2 separate regions of the Homo sapiens genome follow, and region 2 is linked to region 1. Evidence: promoter capture Hi-C in 16 types of primary human blood cells and fetal thymus (Javierre and others, 2016). All regions are on one chromosome and are shown on one strand. Each heading gives the region's core, a stretch centred on a gene start or on the middle of the fragment in contact. The rest is flanking DNA. Distances are from core to core; before and after follow the strand shown. Region 1 holds the start of DDC-AS1 (DDC antisense RNA 1). Region 2 holds the start of COBL (cordon-bleu WH2 repeat protein).

Evidence for each region. The method cuts DNA at HindIII sites, captures the fragments that hold promoters and counts their contacts. A CHiCAGO score of 5 or more calls a contact.
Region 2: the fragment with the promoter of COBL here is called in contact with the fragment with the promoter of DDC-AS1 in region 1 in 10 of 17 cell types (erythroblasts, M2 macrophages, neutrophils and 7 more); the score reaches 15.9 in erythroblasts.

What each region holds. Positions count from the first base shown.
Region 1 is chr7:50,530,168-50,536,001 of GRCh38, forward strand. It overlaps DDC-AS1 (DDC antisense RNA 1), which reads left to right and starts at 1,592. Exons shown (of 5, transcript NR_033845.1): 1 at 1,592-1,715. All of the region lies in intron 4 of DDC (dopa decarboxylase), which reads right to left. RefSeq lists enhancers at 495-664, 513-682, 1,042-2,241, 4,605-5,804. The HindIII fragment of the contact is 9,169 bases long and covers 1-3,462 here.
Region 2 is chr7:51,312,239-51,318,223 of GRCh38, forward strand. It overlaps COBL (cordon-bleu WH2 repeat protein), which reads right to left and starts at 4,571. Exons shown (of 13, transcript NM_015198.5): 1 at 4,355-4,571. The coding sequence starts at 4,395. It overlaps LOC124901633 (a long non-coding RNA gene), which reads left to right and starts at 4,746. Exons shown (of 2, transcript XR_007060324.1): 1 at 4,746-4,986; 2 at 5,809-5,985. RefSeq lists enhancers at 4,829-5,422, 5,423-5,985. The HindIII fragment of the contact is 13,046 bases long and covers 979-5,985 here.

The sequences.
Region 1 (5,834 bases), core at 342-2,841:
TGACTTGAGCCTGGGAGGCGGAGGTTGCAGTGAGCCGCAATTACAACACTGCACTCCAGCCTGGGCGACAGAGTGAGACCCAGTCTCAAAAAAATAAATAAATAAAAAGAAGGGGAAATGTGGCCCCCAGACATGTGGGTGCACAGAGGGAAGACCATGTGAGGACACAGGGAGAAGGTGGCCATCTGCAAGCCCAGGAGAGAGGCCCCAGGAGAACCAACCCTGTGGACACTTTGATTTTGGACTTGCAGCCTTCGGGACTGTGAGAAAAGAAATTCTTCTTCGATCCACCCAGTCAGTGGTATTTTGTTAGGGAACCCCTGGCAAACTAATGGATTCAGGGCCTGCTATGTTATCCCATTTAAGTTGTAAAAATAATCCCATTTTTGTGTTTTATCATCTTCAGGTGGGGAAACAGATGTGCAGAGAGGTTCACTAACTTGCCCCAAATCAGCAGCTAGGTAGGGCACGGTTAGGAGTGAGCCCACGCCTGCGCTTTTTAGGGTGCCATGGGCCTAGAAAGGTAGGGGCAGCGAGCACCTTCCCTCTTAAGTAAGTCGTAGAAGAAACCCATCTACCGACCAGTATGAAAGGACATTAGAAAGGGCAAATAAAAGAAGGTAGGTTCTTGTTGACTCTGAAAAAGTTTATAACATGATAGGTTTTTACAGAGAAATATATAATAAAATAATTAAGTAGAAATGCTAACCTCTCTTCTTAACATTTGATGCTCTCTTCATTGACCCTGATTTCTCATTTTGACTTTGCCTTGACACTACTTTTACTTATTCTTTTGAGCCAACCCACATCCTTTGGTGGGACAGTAATATTGAAAGATAAATACATTTATTCATGTTTCTGTAGCACTAATGGATGGGTTCAAATATACAGATATATGCGTCTCTTAATTCAGCATCTAAAATGGGTACTTTATTTCCTTCAGGCTATATTTTCATGAGCAATGATTTTAGACATTGTTTTAGGCCAGGTTTACAAACCTTGGCCAGAGGAGAGAGAAGGGGAGAAACCAATTTTGGCTGGCAAAGCTAAATCAGCCATCCCAGGAAACCCAGGCTCCCTGAGAGCAGGCATTGTACCTTACTTACACTTCTCCTATGTACCCCATCATTCCTGTCCCTGATTTCCTCCTGTCCCCCTATCTGCCCCCACACACATTTTGTTTGTCATGTCCCACCCATTCTCATTGGAAATGTAACATGAAAAGCCTGGTGGAAGGCACAATTCCCTGTTCTGATGCTTGACAAGCAGGCGTGACTGCAGCTTCCCCGGCTAAATTCTACCCTCTGCTTGAAGCGTTGGAACGCAGGTGTTCATTCTCTGAACATTCTAATGAAATGAGTCACCATGAATCACCTGAATCACCATGACAACTCATTATGGCTTTTCTCTGGGGGGGGATGGGGGAGCTTAGTTCATGTCCTAAGAGAAAATTCACCTTCTTAAGTCAACAAAATGATGTTTTAAAAGCCTGAAGGAGCAAATCGTCAGTAGCACATCTAGAACCACACCACCCCGATGCCACCAGGGTGGCCTGGTGGCCTCAAGCATGATGTCAGGTGGAGCTCTCTGCACTTTGCTGGCAGCAGATCTTCGCGGAGAGAAGCACGGGGAGGGTGACATGTGGTACAGAGCAGGAACGATGGCTCTGTGCGATAGCAGCAGACAAAGGTTGCCATGGCAAGCCTGCTCAGGAGGTAGGAGGGGATGCTGGTAAGGTCTGACGCTTCTGGCTGCTGATGCCGTGAGCAGAAATGTCCTTTCATCTTCAGTTTTTTTCGAAGCAAAAAATTGTCTTTTCTTCCACAAGAACTTTAAAACCCAATTAAGAGACCATTTTCCCAGACCACATTTGTCCAGCCTCACAACAACAGTTTGCCATTTGACTCAGACACGCATCACTGCGCTGACGCCCACAGCTGTGATTACAGCTCTGAGGGGATCAATAATGCAGGCTGGCTCACAGGCTGTCACCAGGCTCCTGTGCTCTTTGGGGCCTCACCAATTACAGACAATCAGCCTTGTCTGCTGAGAAGGGTGAGCTTCCGGTGGCAAACACAGATCCCATTTCTTCCTTTCATCCAGAAAAAAACTGAGTGGATTGGGCTCACAGGAAGATTGTGTTAAAGCGGGGGCTGAGAGATGCCAGGAATATTCCTACCCAAATGCTAAAGACTTGTATGGTCTCTCAAAAATGAGGTTGTCTTTAATGAAACGAAAATGCAGCCCATAGTAGCATGCACATCTCTGGACACCAACCCAAGCCTATGGTCAGGGATGAGCTGGTGTAACAGTCATAACTCTGGTTGTCTTTCCTACTAGCCTTGGCTTTAATTCACTTTTGCTGCTATGCATGTTCTACTAACTTTCTGGGACTCAATATCCTCATCCATGAAAAAGATTGTCCATAATCCAATCAATCTTCATAAATACTTTGAGGATGAAGACAATAACACAAAGCACAAGACATAGGCTAAAACATAGCCAAGCTCATAATTGCTATTCAATGAAAAGTAGCTCTTATTATAATAGACACAGCTTATATTATGAGGGATTGATAAGATTTTTTTGAGGAGTATATAATTAGAGGAATCATCTGCTGAAAAAATTGAATATGAAATTGTTTTTGTTATAAGATGCAATGACCTAGAAATGCTTCAATTTTTGTTTTGTTCCATTTGGATTTAGTGGGGAGCATGAATGTTAAACATGAATACAGCCAGGAGAGTCCTAGGAGGAAGGTGATCATCTTGGAAGATTGTTGCACTTCATCCTAAAGGGTGTCCTCCAAAATTTTTTTTATAAGAATGGAAAATTTGATGCAACACAAATATCTTAGGTATTATTTATATATTTATATAGATTGTGATGCATCATAGAAAATCATGGAGTAATACTTTTTTCAAACAATATTTAAATAGTGGGAAATGCTCACAATAAAATGATAAGGAAAGCACCATGCAGAAAATCCATATGCGTAGTATCATTTCAATTTTGTCTGTATACATATATTCACATGTAGATACTGAAATAACACAGGGAATATGACAAGAAAGCTCCTGTGTCTTTTCATTTTTACCATGAATGTCCAGTATCTAGGTGGAAAGGGGACTTTTTTTTTTTTTTTTGAGACAGGGTCTCACTCTGTCACCCCGACTGGAGTGCAGTGGCATGATCTCAGCTCACCTCAACATCCACCTCCTGGGTTCAAATGATTCTCCTGCCTCAACCTCCTGAGTAGCTGGGATTACAGGCACATGCCACCATGTCCAGCTAAGTTTTGTATTTTTAGTAGAGATGGGATTTCACCATGTTGGCCAGGCTGGTCTTAAACTCCTACCTCAAATGATCCACCCGCCTTGGCCTCCCAAAGTGTTGGGATTACAGGCGTGAGCCACCACACCAGGTCCATAATCACATAATCATGTGGAGAAAACCATGAAAAGCTTCCTAAAATATAGAAGATAACAAAAAAGGGAAATATCGAAAGGAAGAGAGAAATCATGGAAGAGGTACCCAATCTGTGGAAAATTGAAGTCCCTGAAAAAGAGTGACGTGGCCCACAATAACTAACATACAGTAGAAGAAAAATCTCCACACTGCACAGAGCTGAGTCTTGAATCAGCAGGGCTCACCAAATGCTAGGGAGGGTCAAAATGAGGGGAACAGTCTGGGTGCAGTGGCTCACTGCTGGATCTGTCCTGCAGACCCTGGCCGATGGAGGAAATGAGTGCTCAGACACAGGTATGCAGTGTAAGAGCAGCTAAGTGACTGCCTGGCTCTAGTGGCCAGAGAGCAGCCCTGAGAAGCTGGAGCAGCTTGCTTTTATTGAGTGCAAGCACAATGCTGAAAACCTGGAGCAAACACAACCTGTAGATAATTAACATTTATTGTTCCCCTTTCAGGGAATGTCACGTGCAAGGATGTTCCGAGGTCAGTTCCTGGACAACTTCTAACAAACAAGCTTGACCAAGATAAATTCCCCTACACTCCCTTGTACCTACTCCTTATCCTCTGCCTCAGGGTTATAGAACAGCTGCCTTCAGCTATTCTGCCATGGAGCTTTGCAGAGCCTTCTGACCTTTCAGAAGGCCTGCTCCTTTTCCCTATAGTTTCTCCCACCACTCTGACCGATCTCCTACAGCTCACACCTGTAATCCTAGCACTTTGGGAGGCCGAGGTGGGTGGATCACCTGAGGTCAGGAGTTTGAGACCAGCCTGGGCAAAATGGCAAAACCCTGTCTCTACTACAAATACAAAAATTATCCAGGCATGGTGATGGGTGCCTTGTAATCCCAGCTTCTTGGGAAGCTGAGGCAGGAGAATGGCTTGAACCGGGAGGCAGTGGTTGCAGTGAGCTGAGATCGTGCCACTGCACTCCAGCCTGGGCGACAAGAATGAGACTTCGTCTAAAAACAAGACAAAATAAAAAAAAAAAATGAGAGGAACAAATGGAAAAGAAATGGAAAAGTAGACCTTGTCCCGTGTATAAAACTAAAAGAAAAAGTAAGTCGGCCACCAACATCGAGGCCTCTTGTAAAGGGTTAGACCATGCATGCCCTTGCCTGGAATCAAAACCACGCCCTCTGCAGGCACGCAGCTGTCCCACTGGGTCGCTGAGTGCTGCTGCCCTCTGTCCCCTGGAGAATCAGGACTGATGTTCCAGAGGCCAGAAAGCCATCTGGCCCTCACCAAGGCAAAGTGCAGCTGACAGAGCACTGGCTGCGGACAGTGTGCAGTAGCTCCCTCCCCTCGCTGGAAGGGCACCTGTGACAGCCTATCCTTGCTGTGATCTTGGCCAAGGAGGCTTCTCCAGCTGCATACTCACTGACCAGAAGAAAATTGTGCTGGGACTGAAGCATGATTCATTTGCTGAATCATTGCTGAGTCATTGTTGCTGCTACGTAGAATGGTATGGTTCACAGCAACGTATTGAAGCTTTGCTTACAACATAGCTGACGTTTTCTTTTCTTTCTTTTTTTTTTTTCTTGATGGAGTTTCCCTCTCGTCAACCAGGCTGGAGTGCAATGGCAAGGTCTTGGCTCACGGCAACCTCTGCCTCCCAGGTTCAAGCAATTCTCCTCCCAAGTAGCTGGGATTATAGGTGCCCGCCACCACACCTGGATAATTTTTGTATTTTTAGTAGAGACAGGGTTTCACCATGTTGGCCAGGCTGGTCTCAGACTCCTGACCTCAGGTGATCTGCCTGCCTTGGCCTCACAAAGTGCTGGGATTACAGGCGTGAGCCACTATGCCTGACATTTCATTTTCCTCAGCTCCCCATTTAATATCACTTATGTCTGATGGAAAAAGAGATAACCAAAGAATGCGAAGGAGGAGCACGTGGAGGGATGACTCTGAGCCTGGCCACAGGGCCTGTGGGTCATGGAGAAGGCAGTCATCAGTCCCGGCATGTGGCCTATTCAGGAATCTGGGTGTCATCCGGATGAATTAGCGTTCACATTTTTTGGCCCAGAGTCTAGGAATAGGCATTACAAGCAAGTTCCCTCCATGACTCTGAAGCACACTGGATGTGGTAGGCACATTAATGCACCCTCATTCCCAGAGATTTCAGGTCTTGGTCCCCAGAATCTGTGACTGTTTCCCTTCCAGGGAAAAGGTGACTTTGCTGATGTGATTAAGTTAAGAAACTTGACTTGAGAGATTATCTCAGATTGCCTGGATGGACCCAATCCAATCATATGTGTCCTTAAAAGTGGAGACCCACTTTCCGATCTTATATGTGGTCACAAGGAGATGCGACCAGGAAAGTGTGAAAGGAAAATAAATCTTGGGACCCCCAAATCACTAAGCCA
Region 2 (5,985 bases), core at 3,321-5,820, 790 kb after region 1:
GAGAATCGCTTGAACCGAGGAAGTGGAGGTTGCAGTGAGCTGAGATCGCACCATTGCACTCCAGCCTGGGTGACATGGTGAGATTATGTCCCCCCACCAAAAAAATAAATAAATACAGGAACTCTTAGTGTATTTACAAAGTTCAAGTCTAAATCAGAACCAAGTGTTAGCATATTTCACATTTGTATGTCCTTGATCTAAATATTAATACTACTTTGGTATCAAATATTTATGCTCACTTTTCAAAACTGCAGATCAATTACAAAATTAAATTTAATCATAAATTTATAACAAAGCACAAAAGGCCTAGAAACCTAAACTACTTATTACGGTGTATAGATGCATCCTATAATCATTGTTTTCTTAATAATTACAGGAGCACTTGCGTGGACACAGATTATGACTTCATTCCCTGGATCCCAAATTAAGAAGTCCACAGAATCCAGGCCTGCATATACGTGGGGGCTGTCGCTCTGCCTGGGTCAAGGTTCCACTCAATAATAATCCACTCCACCTGTGCACTGGAGGTCACGAGAAAACACAGGAGGGACTGCAGGCAAAAGTTCCTGGGGGCAGGAGAGATGCAACACTTAACAAATACCTTTGTAACAAATTTTAATCATACTTCAGTTCTATCCCCTTTATAGAACCACTGAGAAATAATAAAAATGCTCTGAGACTATGTGATATTGCAACACAGAAATGTCCAACTCTTCTAATTTATTAGTAAATATTTTAATTACAAAACATTAAAATTCCTAGGCCTACTCTCCACATTACATCAAGCAATTCTTAACTTTTACTTTCTTAAATGAATTGCCAAAATAAAGAGTAGCTCAGAAGTAATATCTTTTAAAAATAATGCTCAAATCTAACGGGAAAAGTTTTATGTAACAGTTCATTATACATGCTCTCATTTGAAAGAATGTAAACACTTTCTCTAACATGTTAGCCAAAAGCCAAAGGCCTAGAAACCTAAGCTTCCTATTATGGTGTAGAGTTAATATTTTCTTAATATCTGCATGCTTATGAGGGTTTCATACAAAATGTCACTGTGGCTGCCCCATGTCACTACCAAGAGTCACAGGCCTTCTACACTTAATACTATGTGCGGCACCGACAGGACTAGAGTAGCTCAAGTTACCCACTTCGATTAATTTTTTAAAATTTCTTTTGGTTCTAATAACTTGATTAAATAAATATAAATTTATGCAAAGAAATGAATAACAGCTATGTGTACATGAAGTCCACATTTTGACGAAACTGATTAGCAAAACTTCCACTGATTTTTACATGAGCAAACTGCTTGAATACAGCCATTGATCAAATGCACCAGCTGTTTTGACATTTCATGTCATTGGAGATTACTGTATTCTACAGAAACATGTCTTTCCTCCATAGGAAAAAAAAAATTAAGCATGGTCCTGCCAAACAGCAAGCCTTCTTCTGTCCTTTATTAACAGAGGGTCCAATGGGAAATTTAGCCCTGTGTTCTGTAACAGCCGACTACTGGGATGGCTCCTATAAATATTCAGACAAACGCAAAGTAAACAGATAAAGTAGAGAGTTAAATATACTTCAAAACCTCACCAAAAGGCAATTTGCCTTTACTTGTGTTCTGAGTATTCTGTCAATTCTTATACTTCAACTGAGCTCTAAAACTCCCTAAAAGTCACATCAAGTCTGACTTGTTAGTTTTTGCACACAGCCTCTTTCCTAAAAGAACACTTTCCCCAGGAGTCAAGGAAGTCATACATCACTGTTTTAATGAAATTCCTAGTAAAAAACATACAATTTCAATCCAAGTAAAAACGTATATTTGTGTTTTTCACAAAGATAACTAATAACTACCTGTTAATAATTTAGCCAGACACAGAGTCAGTGAGTTTACATTCACCAACCTATCTCCCTTCAGTAATCTTCTAGAAGAGCGTTTGTAGGCCACAGGGTGAAATCTCGTTAATTCACTGCACCCAGTCTAGCTTGTTTCTATACAACACAAGGAGGAGTGGTAGTTTCAGCAACAGCAACAGCTTCACCACATCAGTTTGTTATCATGTGGGAAGACAGAGGCTTACTGAAAGTTTGATTTTATAATAAACGGTTGCAGAATCAGATGGAAAACAAATTTCCCTCAAGCACACTGCAAACACTGCCTTAATCTCAGGGAACAGAGGAGTAATCTCAGTGAAGAGCCAACAGAATCTGCCTGCCACCAATAATGTACTAAAGCCACAAATTTCACAGCAATATCTAACCTTTATAATTAGCAAGCATACACCTAAATTATATAAAATATTCGAAGACCTAACACCATTTATCTCCTCAGATTTGAACACAAAATTGCTTATTAAACACGTAATTCTTGTCTGAAAAAATATAAGGATATTAACATTTTCTTGATGCTTCTTCACTGAAAGTATTAACAAATGACAAAGTGAGAACAATAGAAGTTAAAAATAATATGTCTACATTTCTTGGACAAAGATGTTCGGACAAGTAAATTAGACACTGGATATGAGTGAGGGAAAGAACTGAATGCATCAGGAATAATTTCATGTTTTCCATAGCAAAAATCCTTAGTTTTACTTTGCAATTCAAATATGAAAGCCAATCAGAGCTCTGGGAAGCCCTGAGAAGGCCAGCCCTCGACTACCTCTTGCCACACAGTACCAGGCTGAAAAGAGTGCCACGCTCTTAGGGTAAGTCCTTTCACTTCTATCATTAGACTCCCTTCAAGGATCTTACAGATACTCTTTGGATACAGTTTTGCCGGCCTTTTAAATGTTCTCTCTGTCTTCATATTTATTTATAAGGTGATAGTGACAAAATAATTCAGTGTCCTTAAATAGGCTCATTTAATAGGCTATGAAAGCCACAGATTTAAAGATACCTCTGTTTCACATTTCCCTGTTATTTTGGGATGCCTATTACCATGAAAAAGGATTTCCCACATTTACTTTCTTTCTGGGGAATTTGTTTGTTCAAAGAGAATTATATAACCACCAGTAAGTGCACTGCAAAAAAAAAAAAAGAGAGAGAGAAAGAAAACTTCTTTTTAACATTCCTCAGCTTCAGGATTATTTGATTTGCTAACCTGGCTCACCTTTTCCTGGCATTAAAGGAAAACTTTAAAATTTTAAAAAGAGCCCGACTGAAAGTCTTTTACACACTTGGGCAACACGCCCGCCTATGGGCACATGGGCAGGGTGAGTCAGTGGGACACAACTGTAACAGAAAAAAAGATTTGTTGTCCCCAAAGCTGCCTCCTTCAAGTCCAGTTGCCATAGCAGAAAGTGGGCCCATTCAGTAAGCAGGTGCAGGGCTCACCCCAACCCTCATTCCATTTGCAAGACTCATACACATTTGCTCCAGGCGAGCGAGCGAGTTCGAAGGTCCCCGGCGCGCCGCGCTGAAAACTACAAAGTCCACCGGGACTGCGCGCTACCCCGCGGCCCAGCCTGCACCGCTGGCCGGGATGAGCACGGCGCACCTGGCTCGGGGTCTGAATAATGAGCAGGGCTGCTCGTCCTGTTTGAGGGAAATTACTCTTTCTGAGAGTCAAATCCTGAATGTGACGTGTAATCCCTGCACGCAAGGTGTGGGGATAGCAAACAGAAACCGGGAGAGGTTTGGGCAAAAGCGGAATCGCGAAGACAGGGATGGGCCGCCAGACTCGCGGGTCCGCTACGGATGTCTGCGCCTCAGGCCTGGCCCCACTAGGACGCCCCTTCCACTGCCAGGGGAGACCCTGGAATAAAGGCAGGGAGGGAGAGCTGCTGCCATGAAACCCTCCGGGCAATCCGAACACCTTCCGAGAACGCGGGGCCCGGGCGGCTGCGAAGCCGGGGAGCCCTCCCCTCCACGCTGCCGGGAGAGCCGATCCTGGGGCTGCCGCCGAGGCCGGGAGAGGGAAGACTTGATGGGAACCGGCCAGGGGCAAGCCCGCAGGGAAGAGGCCGGAGTCAAAGGCCGGGCGTCCCCTCGCTCCCCGCTCCACCCCTACGGCAAACACTTGGGGGGCCTGAGGAAAGCTCGGAGCTGAGTGGGGGCTGTGCTGGCGGGGACCCCCATAAGGACGCCTGCATACAAACCACCCCGCGCGAAAAGTGCGCTCCGGCCCCGGCCCGACACGGTTACCTGGGCAACGACCCGGGTGCCCAAAGTACACAGCACGCACCACCACCCAACACCAGCACCCAACACCAGCACCGCACCACCTGCTCCACCACTACCACCAGCACCCGCTGGGGCGGCAGAGAGGGCGCCCTGCCCGGGAGCGCGCGGTGCGGACGCGGGCGTCCGAGCCCAGGGAAGCCCCCTCTCCACCCCGCCCGACCGCGGGGCCGCTTACCCGGTCGGGGGCTTGGCCGCCGAGGCGCGCGGCGCGTCCATGGTGCCGGGGGCCGGGACGCGGGCGGTGCTCCGGGCCCGCCGAGTCAGGCGCTGGCTACCGCCGCCACCGCTGCCGCCCTCATTCACTTTTTCCGCGCTGACCCATCGTCCTCCCACGCGGGCCGGCGGAGGACAGCGGCGGAGCGCGGCGGACGGAAGGGGCTGGAATCGTCTCTAGCGGGCGGGGGCGCCGGGAGCGCAGGGAGGGGCTGGCGGCGGCGCGGGGCGGGGGCGCCGGGAGCAAGGTGCGCCGCGCCCCCGCCCCGGCTGCTCTGCCGCGCCCACCGGAGCGCCGCCCCCGCCCCGCCCCGCCCCGCCTGCTCAGAGTCCCGACCCGGCCCGCGGCGAGCGTCCGGGGAAGGAATCCTCCGGCACCTGGGCCCTGCACCGACACCCGCGGGTGCGGCAGAGGGCTTCTCCCCGTGCTCCTCCACCCCTGGGGGGAGCGCGACCCTCTCTGGGCGGAGTGGGGGATCCCGGGGCCGGCGCCTCCTGGCGGAGTTGGGGGAGGGGAACCACCTGGAGCCTGGAGGCCGTGCGAGGGCGAGGTGGGCGGACCAGCCCGGGAGGACTGACGTTGGAGGGTGAGAAGTGAGTGTCCGGCACCGCTCTCTGACCTTTATCCGTGCAGCAAATGTCTAGTGCGTAGGGTCGCAAAGTGGGAGTCCCGACCGGGAGCGTCAGGAACACCTGGGAACTTGTTAGAAATGCAGATTTCTGGGGCCCACCAGGTCCCACGGAATCAGAAACAGTGCGGGCTGGAGCGCGGCCTCGCTTTGCTAACAACTCACTCGCTCTAGGTGAATGCTCGCTTAAGTTTGCCAACCTGATTCACTGGGCGCTACTGTGGCACAACCCTGCCACTCCAGTGCGGGCTGGCGGGCAGATATGCAGGTCCTGCCGGCCACGCCGGGGCCCAGAGCAAGTCAGCCAGAGGTCCCTTATCTGCCCAACTTCACCTCCACTCTCTAAGATCTTGGTTGGTATGATGGGCTGACCTATAAAAGTGGCAGTTTCATATGGTTTCAATGACTCGAATAAAAGACCAACAAGAGGCCAGATCGGGCGAGCCTGATAGCGTTGGGGGTGACGCTCCCCTTGCGATCTTGTCATTGGATGAGGTATCCAGAGGCCTGCGCAGCCTTCCTCCCTCTGATCCCCTGCTTTCTCATTAACTGAAGGGGGGGCAGACCAGTCTATATGCAAAATGTGAGTCCTTACTCGTGGCTGGCAGATCTTGGGTGCTCCCTGCTCCCACCTAGAAGGTTTCCTAAGTCCCCAGGTGGCCCTGGGGCTCACTTCCCTGCAGCCCAGCCTCCCATGAGTGGAGCGCTTTCCCGGCTCAGGGCCTCTGGCTGGGATGCTGCTCCACAGTGCTCTTCCTCCTCCTTTTCATCCCGTGGTCTCCCCAAGGAGCCTTTCCTGGCCTCTCTGTCTAAAAGCACCCTGCGGAGCACAGTGGCTTACACCTGTAACCTCAGCACTCAGGGAAGCCAAGGCCGGAGGAGCAGTTGAGCTCAGGAGTCGGAGACCAGCCTGTGCAACCTGGGAGAACTTTCTACAAAATAAAAAAATTAGCGGAGCATGGTG